Regions from separate parts of the Homo sapiens genome. Here all the other regions are linked to region 3. Evidence: promoter capture Hi-C in 16 types of primary human blood cells and fetal thymus (Javierre and others, 2016). All regions are on one chromosome and are shown on one strand. The core of a region is centred on a gene start or on the middle of the fragment in contact, and the rest is flanking DNA. Distances in the headings are between cores, read along the strand shown. Region 1 holds the start of TRMT10A (tRNA methyltransferase 10A). Region 2 holds the start of TIGD2 (tigger transposable element derived 2). Region 3 holds the start of PDLIM5 (PDZ and LIM domain 5).

What was found. Contacts are between HindIII fragments. The CHiCAGO score rates a contact against its expected background, and 5 or more counts as called.
Region 1: the fragment with the promoter of TRMT10A here is called in contact with the fragment with the promoter of PDLIM5 in region 3 in 7 of 17 cell types (naive CD8 T cells, non-activated CD4 T cells, naive CD4 T cells and 4 more); the score reaches 15.7 in naive CD8 T cells.
Region 2: a contact is called between the fragment with the promoter of TIGD2 here and the fragment with the promoter of PDLIM5 in region 3, in 2 of 17 cell types (naive B cells and total B cells). The highest score is 9.6, in naive B cells.

What each region holds. Positions count from the first base shown.
Region 1 is chr4:99,562,495-99,566,038 of GRCh38, reverse strand. It overlaps TRMT10A (tRNA methyltransferase 10A), which reads left to right and starts at 2,000. Exons shown (of 8, transcript NM_001134665.3): 1 at 2,000-2,126. It also overlaps a transcript of MTTP not described here. RefSeq lists enhancers at 1,922-1,981, 2,332-2,461, 1,697-2,896. The HindIII fragment of the contact is 8,482 bases long and covers 1-3,544 here.
Region 2 is chr4:89,109,384-89,113,124 of GRCh38, reverse strand. It overlaps TIGD2 (tigger transposable element derived 2), which reads right to left and starts at 1,592. Exons shown (of 2, transcript NM_145715.3): 1 at 1,242-1,592; 2 at 1-1,058. The coding sequence starts at 150. RefSeq lists a silencer at 1,335-1,784 and enhancers at 1,865-1,944, 1,975-2,084. The HindIII fragment of the contact is 10,355 bases long and covers 108-3,741 here.
Region 3 is chr4:94,450,463-94,454,275 of GRCh38, reverse strand. It overlaps PDLIM5 (PDZ and LIM domain 5), which reads right to left and starts at 2,334. Exons shown (of 13, transcript NM_006457.5): 1 at 2,281-2,334. RefSeq lists silencers at 1,835-2,094, 2,265-2,684. The HindIII fragment of the contact is 3,776 bases long and covers 1,185-3,813 here.

The DNA of each region.
Region 1 (3,544 bases), core at 751-3,250, 5.1 Mb before region 3:
GGATTACAGGCGTGAGCCACCACGCCCGGCCTCAAAACCTATTTTTCTTCCAGTATTCCCTAAATGACCCGGTTAATGTTACTGCATTCCTACAGTTGTCCAAGTTAGAGAAGCCCTTAGGGTTATTATCTCCTCCTTCTTCCTCATTCTATCCACAGCTTTTCAGTCATGTGCAAAACTATGACACGCTTAGGTCTTTGCTTTCACTGTTCCCAATATCTTAAACTTCTTCACTTTTCTGACACCTGTACAACTCCTACTTACTTTCCAAGATGAAACAAAATTATTTAATCTCCAAAACTATGTCCTCTGCCTCAAGGAGCATTTAGTTGCTTCTTTCAAAGTACAAGCATCTCAAGTACATGTTGTATGGTATTTATTTACTGCTGGCTCCCCTATTAGATTAAGGATTCCTTAAGCACAGAGAGCATGATTTCGTCATTTCTGTATCACCAATACTAAGACAAAACGCATAGAACTCGATACATGTGTCAAATAAATAAATACATAAATTTTACAAATCAATGAAAATATTGTTTCACATGATTTCACCGTCTTAAACTTTCTATATGTTTCAATTTTTTGTTAAATTGACTTTTGCTGGTGCTCTTTTGGTGCTTACTTTGGATTAATAATAGAATCATTTTAAATTTTGCACCAAATGACTACAAAGTTAAATGTCTATGTCAAAAGAAAATTTATTGACTTCATTATTAGAATATGAAGTGGTTTTTTTTGCTTTAAAACTTTGTTTAAAATATCTAAGGAGGCCAGGTATTAACTCTGAAAAAACTGTATAATTATTTATAAAACAGATCCCATAGGAGCAACTGAACAGCTGTGGAAAGATTTGGCACATCACTTTGCCAGCCTGAATTTAATGACCTACATGTGAAGGGCTACATATCCAATTACTAATCCTCCCTCAGCTACTCTTTGCCCTCATATGGAGGCAGCTGAAAAAAGATGCCCTACTAACAGATCAGAAGTGGATCCAGACTTTTTTGCCAGTGCTCAGTTAACAAAGATCTTTTAGGTTTGAGATGAGGAAGAAACAGAAGAGGGACTCACAACAGTGTTATAGCTGATACAGTGTTTCAAGTAAAATTTAAGGGCTTATGGCAAGAGTGACTTTAGTTTTGTAACTAAAGTCAAAGAAATTTCGGCTCTTTTAGAGAATCTCAAATTCTGGATTTAATTTTCTATTCACTGAAGCCTTTAAACATGTTCAAATATCTTCAAGGATAATTTACTTCAAAATTCTTTCTATATGAGAAGCCAGTCTTCTATTCAAGATGCAAACCTCATTCTTACCTTCAAATTCTGCAATAATCACCTATTAGAAGTAGAGGAGAAAAAAACTAAATAGAAAATGACAATCTACGGGGTTGTATTTCATTTCTCTCTCAGTTGACATGATCTATATATAGCAAAAGATTATATAAGGTCAAGTATTATAAACAATGAAATGTCATCTGATGTTTTGCAAAACAGCATAGGAAAAATAGCTCAAGGAATGAATAAAGAGTAAAGCTATGGCTGTTTTACTTCAGCCATAAAAAAGCCTTACAGATTCTAAATTTAAATGCATTTTATTGTGAATCTGACTCACTTTTTGAATTTAATTTTCCACTTGAGTTATGTAAAATCATGTGATATGGTAATTTTCTGTATAAATTAAAAATAATATAGGCAAGAGATGTTTTTCTCTCATTTTCAACACAGAAAAATTAGGAGCCTTTCTTCGTTGTTTTGCATTTTTAACAGTGGGACTATCTTAATTCCTTCATCCAATACTCACAAGAATATATGAATGAATACACGTCTGCAGGTACACACTTAATTCTTGAACGGGAAAAAACAGACATCACTGTAACTACCTCCCACTCCCAAAACACTAACTCCAGACCCCGCCCCGCATAAACCCCTCCCCTTTCTTCCATTGCGGGTTCGAAATGGCCGCAGTTCGATGACGTAAGACGCAACCGCCGTAGCCTCCACTGCGTAACTACCGCCCCTGCCTCTGGGAATTGAAGTTTCTGTGGAAGGAAGCGTGAGCCGTAACCAGGCCAACCCAGAAAGGCTTTCTTTCTGAGATTTCACTTCCCTGTCAACTCTTCAGCTCGGTAAGTGTCCTGGCACTGGTTGGCGCTCCCCCGCACTATGGTATTCTCTGGACGCAAAGGGGCGCGTGCCATGCAGCCCCCTACTAGCAACAAGGGCTTCCGGGGGAGAGGGGAGCAGTGGTGTGGAAGTGGTTTCCTGCGGCGCTCTTGCTGAAGGAAATGACGTCGATGACAGGCGCCCCCCGCGGCCTACCCAGCTGCTCCCTGGTTCGCCAGAGACAGCTTAATCCCGTCTCTGAAATGCGTTTGCTGGCTGGGAGCCTAGAAGGGATAGTGGGCGAGGCTCCGCCCCGTGGTGGGGCGCTTTCCGTCGGCGTGTGTTTTGGGGTTGCCATCGGCCCGTAGTATGTGAAAAGTGAGTTTGCAAAGAATCAGTGGGAAATCTGTACTCTAAAGGGCCGGAAAGCGTGTTATGGCCCTGCCACTTCGTGGCTAGAGACCGTGGGCTTTACCTCTTTAAAGCTGCCTTACCTCATTTTTCCTGCAAAGGGCTGACGTCGCTGAACTCTCTGAAATGTAGAGAGCCCGAGGGGAAGTTGCTGCAGGTGCTGTGAGCTGAGGACAGTTTTATAAAGATCGAAGTGTTACTTGATTTCACTGAAATACTTTAAATTTGGGAATTTTTCTACAGATATGAAGAGGATGGCAACACATTACTTGTCACTTTCTGAAAGAATTTCATCTGCCCCTTCCATTCCCAACCCTCTGCCCAAAAGGCTTGACAACTGAAGTGAACAAAGGGCTTTTCGCTCCTCCACGTTTAGTCCGCATGTCTTTTAAAAGGGCATTCCTGGCCGGGCGCGGTGACTCACGTCTGTAATCCCCGCACTTCGGGAGGGCAAGGCGGGTGGATCACCTGAGGTCAGGAGTTCGGGACCAGCCTGACCAACATGGTGAAACCCCGTCTCTACTGAAAATACAAAATTAGCCGGGCGTGGTGGCGCATGCCAGTAATCCCAGCTACTGGGGGGGCTGAGGCAGGAGAACTACTTGAACCCAGAAGGCGGAGGTTGCAATCAGCCGAGATTGCGCCATTGCACTCCAGCCTGGGCAACAAGAGCGAAACTCCGTCTCAAACAAACAAGAAAGGCCGGGCGCAGTGGCTCATGCCTGTAATCCCAGCACTTTGGGAAGCCGAGGCGGGTGGATCACGAGGTCAAGAGATGGAGACCATCCAGGCCAACGTGGTGAAACCCCGTCTCTACTAAAAATAACAAAAATTAGCTGGGCGTGGTAGCGCGCACCTGTAGTCCCAGCTACTCGGGAGGCTGAGGCAGGAGAATCGCTTGAACCCGGGAGGCAGAGGTTGCAGTGAGCCGAGATTGCGCCACTGCACTCCAGCCTGGGCGACCTAGCAAGACTCCCTCTCAAAAAAAAAAAAAAAAAAAAAAAAAAAAGGCATTCCTTTGCTATCGCTG
Region 2 (3,741 bases), core at 343-2,842, 5.3 Mb after region 3:
TTCTTTGTTCTTTTTAATATCACGAACTGTGGATTCACCAATTCCGTACACCACGGAAAGTTTTTTGAAAGAGATGCCTTCCTCAAGTTTCTTAATAATGTCAAGCTTGTCCTTAATTGTCAACACCACACGCTTACGTTTCCCCAACATTTTAAGTGTCTAATATTTTAGGTGATTACTAGAACAAGATAATTAACAACTAAGATTTGAATACAAAGCAACTAGAAAATGAGTTCGTAAGATTCCTCCTCTCACTTCTAGGGCCTAGATGGATAGTGACCAATTTCCTGACAAGGTCTACGTGAATCTACTTGCTATTTTAAAACTTACAAACTTCCTACAACAAAGCCTAGCGCCAATTAACTCTTATCTTCTATCTTTCTTCCTCCTCAGGGTTCAGGGTCTTTCATGAAGTGCAATCACACTAGAGGCTAGAAACTGTACTGGTAAGGCTTCTAAAACAGTACTATTGCATACTCAATTCTTGCCATCCTTGCAGGTAATGTTCTTTGCCAGAATAGCCACTAAATCTCAGGTGGAAGTATTTTAGGAAATGTGCTAGGGAGTAAACAGTTTAAGTCAAGAGAGGACTTGCAAACTTGACATACAGGAAAATACAATGGGAAAACTCACCCTCTGACTATGTGGTCTTTGTCAAGCAGTGGATTGTATGGAATGCTGTCTCTCTAGGCACGGACTCTGCTATAGGTTGCGCAAGTGAGTGCTTGTGGAAATCATACGCAAGAGAAGATGACCCGGACAGAAGTGAACAGTGCAAATAAGGTGAAAGTGGAACAGGCAGAAAACTCTACTTTAAAAGCGACTTAAACCTACTAGATTTGGCAGCTGGAAAGGAGGATAGTGGACATGTGATGTCACATTACTAAAGAAAGCATCAAAAAAACTGCATCGGTGGAAATGAGGACCCAAGGTAGAGGCTATGGGGTGGCAGGCTCGGTGAAGATGATGTTACAATAATCCTGGTGAAAGACGATCCTCGATGGACCAACAGAAGCAGTTCCTGTGGGGGCTGTAGAGATACTCGGAGGCTCCGAAACCTAAAGGAAAATACCAAAAACATTTTCTTTCAATTCAACATCAGGATCTGTGGCATTATCCACATTTATCCTGCAACTATGTTGAGAAAATTAACGCCTCCTATCAATGTGATAGCTAAATACGACAAATAATGCTTTCAGGCATAATCTGGGGTGACAGAGAGAGGGACCTGAAGAGCCTACCTCCTGAAATTAAGAGGTCAGGGAGAAGCCGTGTTAGCGAGGGCCTCTCCCCGCTGGGCGAGCTTCAGAGCGCGGGACGTCTTTCCTCCCGCGGAGGGAGCCCGGATTCCGCCTGGACGCCGGCGACCAGGATGTCACTGCTGCAGCCAGCCAGCCAGCGGGCGGCCGCTTGGCACAGGGAACGCCAGTCCGCCGGCCCCGGGCATCGCCCTGGGACCGCCTGCGCGGCGCCCAGACCACACTAAGCGCAAATGGAGTCTCCTGAGGCAGGCTGGCACTGGTGGCCCGGCAGCGGCGAGGGACGAGCGGAGAGGGACGAGCGTCGCCGCCGGAGCCGGAAGGCGGGGGATTAGAGAGCACGCGCGCGCCCCCGCAGAACGTTGTGCCGGCGAGGGGGCGGGGCCTGCGCGGGTGAGCGCACGCGGCCCGGGGGAGGGGACTCCGGCGAGCGGGCGGGAGGGGCGGGGGCCCGGCAGGGGTGCGTCTCTAGGCGCTGCGTGGGTTCCACTCACCGCCTGGCCGTTTCGGGGCCGCAGTGCCTCCCTGGCCGGCAGGGGGAGGCACACGCTCGCCTTGTCCTGGCGCTTTTCCCAGTGGCCCGGCTCTGCCGACGAGGCTCTTTTCTCCCTAGGGGGAAATTTTAAAATCTCACCCCCCCAGTGCTGGGGGGAAAGCGGAGGATCCTCGCGTGCCGGGAGCGGGCTGCGAATGGGGCAGGGCGAGCGCACGTGGGGCGTGTTTACAAACAGCAGCCGCGCCGCCTTGCGGAGGCGGTCCAGGTGTCGGAGCCCAGAGTCAGCGCGCGTGGAAAGTGCTAGCCCGAGCGAGGATCATGAGGCACGGTAGGAGCCGGCGGACGTGGGTTCCGGGCAGGAGCTGGGGCGTTCGCTCGGCAACACCCAGCCGGACAAGCCCAGGGTGCCGAGGCGCGGCGGGCTGCGGTAGAGCCGAGTGTCGGGTCAGCGCTCCCCGGTGCTGATGCTCCGAAACTCGTCACAGTCGCTGTAGAGACGGACCCTTTGCAAAATCGACAGCACCTGGGAGACCCTTGAGCCAGTGGGAGGCGTCGTGGTAAATTTCCTGCCGTGCCTCGACGCCCGGGGCTTCTCAAGTGGAATCGGGGAATTGCGCTTTGACTGATACTCCCTTTATTTGTTTCCAACGGAGACATCTGCGGAAGGGTCACCGCCTTCCTGGAGGAGAGAGTGGTGCACCTCCACCTTGCACCACCTGTTTCCTGGGAAACGCGGTCAGGCTGCCTTCCTTTCCGTCTTGTGTGTGCGTGTCAGTTTGAAAAATTGGAAATTCTTCAGTGAATTATCTCTTCCATATGAACATAAATGTAACCTTTTCGTTAACACAAAGTAACATAGTAATTCGTCATTTCTTTGACAAGGCCATATACTGTTTCTGGAATTTCAGAAACTTGGAGATGGAAATCAAAGCGAGCATACTGTAGAAAACAGATGTTGATTCTAAGCCTTCTGTTTGACTCCGCCGCCAAAACTGCTCAATTGCCTTTCTCAACATAGCAGCCTTCCACTATCTGGCATGACAGAAATTCTTTGATCTAGTTATGTTGTGAGGTTGTAAGTGGCTTTTGGAGAATACCTGCTTTTAGACCTCCCCTCTTCCCTGCCTTCCATTTGGCTTCCAACAAGCCAGTCCCTTTCTGGAAGTCCTGGTTGCCTGTTTTGGGTACATTATAACTTACTTCATGGTAGTTTTATATAACTTTACAAAATATTCTTATTTTCCCTGATACCTGTGAAGAGCGTGAAAGACTGCTAGAACAGCACTTTACCGACTGCCACCCATGTGGAAATGAGGCAGCCTGTAACCAGATGTCAGCCGCCTGCCTTTCCGCCTCTCCCCCGAGTCTGCTGGAGTAGCTGTGTCCCAGGATATTTAAATACAAAGGAATCCTGCCTCTTACTCTTCCTCTCTTTTCCACAGTATCTCTAGGATTTAATTTTCTTCCAGATACCATTTGCATTTTTCTCTGTTCCTCCTGGATTCTCCAGTTTGCTGTTTTATGTCTTATAGCTGTTCCCTTTTTATCACCTTGTGTAAGTTCAAATCTGGATACAGCCCACATTTCTAGATTTTCTCAAAACACCGCTTGACTCAAGGCAATTGTATTTAGTAGACTTTTACTAAGATTTTACTCAAGGCAATTGTGTCTTTACACAAAACAGTTTTATTGGGCAAACTTTCTCCTTTTGTTGGGGGAAGGGGTGGCTAGTTGTGGCAGACATATTACAGCACAAGGGGGAGAGGACTTAGAATGTTAAGAATATGTATATATACACACATATATATATAATAAGAATATATGTATGTGTATGTATGTGTATTTTTGAGACAGGGCTTCTCTCTGTTGCCCAGGCTAGAGTGCAGTGGTACGACCATGGCTTGGGCTCACTGCAGCCTCAACCACCTAGGCTCAAGCAGTCCTTCTGCCTCAGCCTCCCGAGTAGCTGAGACTGTAGGCTACAGG
Region 3 (3,813 bases), core at 1,085-3,584:
TTTTCTTTTGTTTTAATGGAATACTAAGAAACAATAATTCTCTCTCTTTAAAAAATATTAAAAACATAACAGATATGTAATTTTATATTAAAAACATACTTCCTTGGAAAATGTAAGCTATTCAACCAAATCACCACCTAATATTACCTGTCTTAAAATATGTTTTAACCCATTCAAAATTTCTAGCCCATCACCCCAAATTCATAGTTGCAGATATAGATATTTGAGCCATAGGTATATTTAAAGCAAACATTCCTTCTTCTCATAAAGGGAAAATGGGGCAAAACATTCAAATAAGCCTGGTTTTTAAAGAAAAATTATATCAGGGAAAATAAAAATTACAGAAAATTGTATCAGAAACCGAAACAGCTTTTCTACTGGCGTGGTAGTATACTGAACTACAAGGCAATAACACATTACTTCAGTAATGAAGTAATAGGCACAGAGCACTAAAAAAGATCCAAAGGCCAAGCCGGAAGTCAAACTGTATATATAGGTGAAAAACTACTAGTGGGAAGCTAATAACGAGCCACACATAATTCAATTGCTTTCCCGCTATAAAAGGAGGAGATTTTCAGAAAACTAATAGAAGGACTGTCCTGATATTGACACGATACAAATCAGAATCGTGTAAAGCCAACTGATATTTCACAGGCAGCCTGCCCTCCTTTATTAATCTTTAACTTGTGTCTGGGGAATAATATGAAAGTTGGGCTCAACTTCCTCTGGCCCCATTCTTCCCTACAAGAAAATGTATTTCATTTAGATTATCAACCCATGTACTTGCAACTTCCCTTTACTTGGGGATTCCCTTCCTAACTTCTCTCATTTGTTATTAAAATTCCTAGCACTGGCAAGGTCACAGCCACACTACAAAACCAGTGTCATTTCATTTCTAGTCACTGTCCGTTCATTTCTAGATGCTTCTTCTGCTAGCTTCATTTGGAATTCATCTGCCTTAAAACAGTCTCTGCCCCAAGCAATGGCAATATTTTTATTGGCCTTTCCAAGACTCCTCCATCTGGTTATTAGTGCCCAAGCCCTTCCTCAAATACCAAGCAGGCAGGAAATAGCAGCATACTCTTTCAAACACGTCGAAAAGGTTGGAATTTCTGTAGAGTTATGGATTTTCTTTTAGGGAAAGTCTAAACAATGTCTTTGCTCTAGTACTAGGGAAGGAAGCTTGGTATTTCCCACACTTGTATCTCAGCTTCATTAGTGGGTGAGAGGGGAGAAAGGAGAACTCAAGATGAACTACACAGAGTGACAAAAAAAAAGGCCTGAAATTAAAGAGAAATATCTTGAGATTCTCTTTCCCCGCAATGGAGAGAGAATGTAGGTAGAGCTGAAGAACTAAAGCCACAGGCACAGGATGAAAGCAGCCGACAGGACAGTTTTCCAGGAGGGATTCGCGCCTAGCCTTGTTGGCCAAATAAGGCTACCGAACGGGCCGTTTCCGTGGCAGGCGGGTTCAGACGTCCTCCCCGTCAGGAAGGCGGACTTGGGATAGGATCTGGCGATCACACCCTAAATCTGCCCTGCCCAGCGCCGCCACGAATTTTCCTTCCAAGCTCTGCCCTGTCCACACGCCCTTCCTTTTTCCACTTATTGTAAAACGCACCGAAGGCACAGTCTTACAAAAGCCCCAACAAGTACTCAAGTGTTAACAAATCTCGTGTTCATGACAAATGTGTTTCTTAAACGAGCTTTATTTCTGGACGCGCAGAAGTTTTCCCCAAACAGGTTACACAAAACTGTAAATATCTGGGGGAGAAATAAATGCTTCTCAGTAGCCTGGGAGCAAAGAAAAACTAACGCGCCTTTTCCTTTGAGTCCCGCTTCCTACCCTCCAAGAGACTGGCGCAGGACTGGGCACTCAGACACCACACCACGGTGGTGCCGGGCGACGCCGGCAGCCGGGTGGGTGGGAGCGGCAGTGCCCGTCCCTGCCGGCCCTCGCCACCTCCGGGCGCCCTCCCGCGTCCCCGTCTCCGCTACGCTGGTCCCGGTCGGCCCGGGCTGCGGGGACCCCAGGGCTCGCCCTCTGGCCTCATGCGGACTCCAGCGCTGCCCTTTTCCGGGCGCTCCTTTTCCCAAGCTGCTCTCCCACCTCCGCCGCTCCGCGCCCAGAAAGCACCTGAGGAGCCATCCCTGCCCGAGGAGCGCCCCCTCCTCGTCCCCAACCGGGCTTCCCTTCTCGCGTTCGGCGCACAGCGGCCGGTTCTTTCCCTTCTCCCACCGGAGATCCGAGAGGCGCATCGCCGGCCGGCCGCCACTCACCTCGGGTCCGGCGCGGCGCGGGGCTGCCTCCGCCTCAGACAAGGGCTGACAAGTGACTCGCGGTGAGGGCGCCGTCCCCACCGCCCGCGGGAACTTCCGCCTCCTGGCTCTCCCTCGCCCCACCCCCGACCCAGGACACGCCCCTCCGCTCCCGGCCACGCCTCTGGGCCAGTCCCAGCCGCGCCGCGCAGGGGCGGGGAAGGTGGCGGCGGCGCCGGGCGCTCGGGCTTGCTGGGGCTGGCTGAAGCAGCTGCGGAAAGACAACTGCGCTACCGAGTTTCGGTGGGAGTAGTCTTAGCGGATTTTGAGCGCTACCTGGCAAAGGTCTAACCCTCCGCTCGTCCGTTTTGTAGTGGGTGCATTTTTCTCTCCAGAAATTTAAATTGGCAAGCAGTTGCTCTGCCTAAAAATAGAAGGGTACTTTGGATAAATCTCTATCTATGCAAGTTCAGCGGTTACTGCCTGCGTTTTTTTTTTTGAAAGAGCTTTACATGCTCTGAAAAGTGCAGACCCAGAAGTTTACCTGTCAGGAAGGTGAAAACCAGTAACCCTAACAGAAGTTAACCCTGTCCATCACACCAGAAGACAGTGATACATAAAAGCGGCCAAAAGTGATTCAACCACTGTATCTTCAGTTTATTTTTCTAAATCCAAATCAATAGTCCACTTTCCAGCCTTCTATAGGGTTGCTTGATACGCCCGAGGAATTTATTCATAAGAAAACGTGAATAATGTTCACTGAACATACGGAAAGTAACTAGACTGTTACACTGTGAATTGGCTTATAAAACGTGAAAAGGACAATTCTTAACCAAGGAGCATATAAAGCAAGGATGAACTTCATGAGGTCCGTGAGCTCCCCGGCCCCCAGAAGTGCAAGCAAAATTCCAAAGGCGAAGATCCAAAGCTGCTCTTTCCCTAACGGTAGCCACTGGCCACATGTGGCTATCGAACAGTTGAAATGTGGCTACTGTAACTGAGACCATGAATTTTTTGTTTTACGTAATTTTAAATAATTTAACATTTAAAACTGAAGCAGGATAACATTTCTTTACTTTTTTTTTCTTTGAGACGGATTCTTGCTCTGTCTCCCAGGCTGGGATCAGTGGTGCAATCTCGGCTCACTGCAACCTCCACCTCCCGGGTTCAAGCGATTCCCCTGCCTCAGCCTCCTGAGTAGCTGGGATTACAGGCGTGCGCCACCACGCCCGGCTAATTTTTTGTATTTTTAGTAGAGATGGGGTTTCACCATGTTGGCCAGCCTGATCTCGAACTCCTGACCTCAGGTGACCAACCCGCCTCGGCCCCGCAAAGTGCTGGGATTACGGGCATGAGCCACCGCGCCAGGTCGTTAACATTTCTTTTAAGCACTACATTTAAGGACTAAAGTTGAAAATATAATGCCCAAATTGAAATGCGTTGGAAGTGTAAAATGCACACTGGATTTCGACGACTTGGTATGAAAAAATAATGTAAAATGCCTCAATAATTTTTATATTGATTATATGCTGAAATCATCATATTTTATGTTTT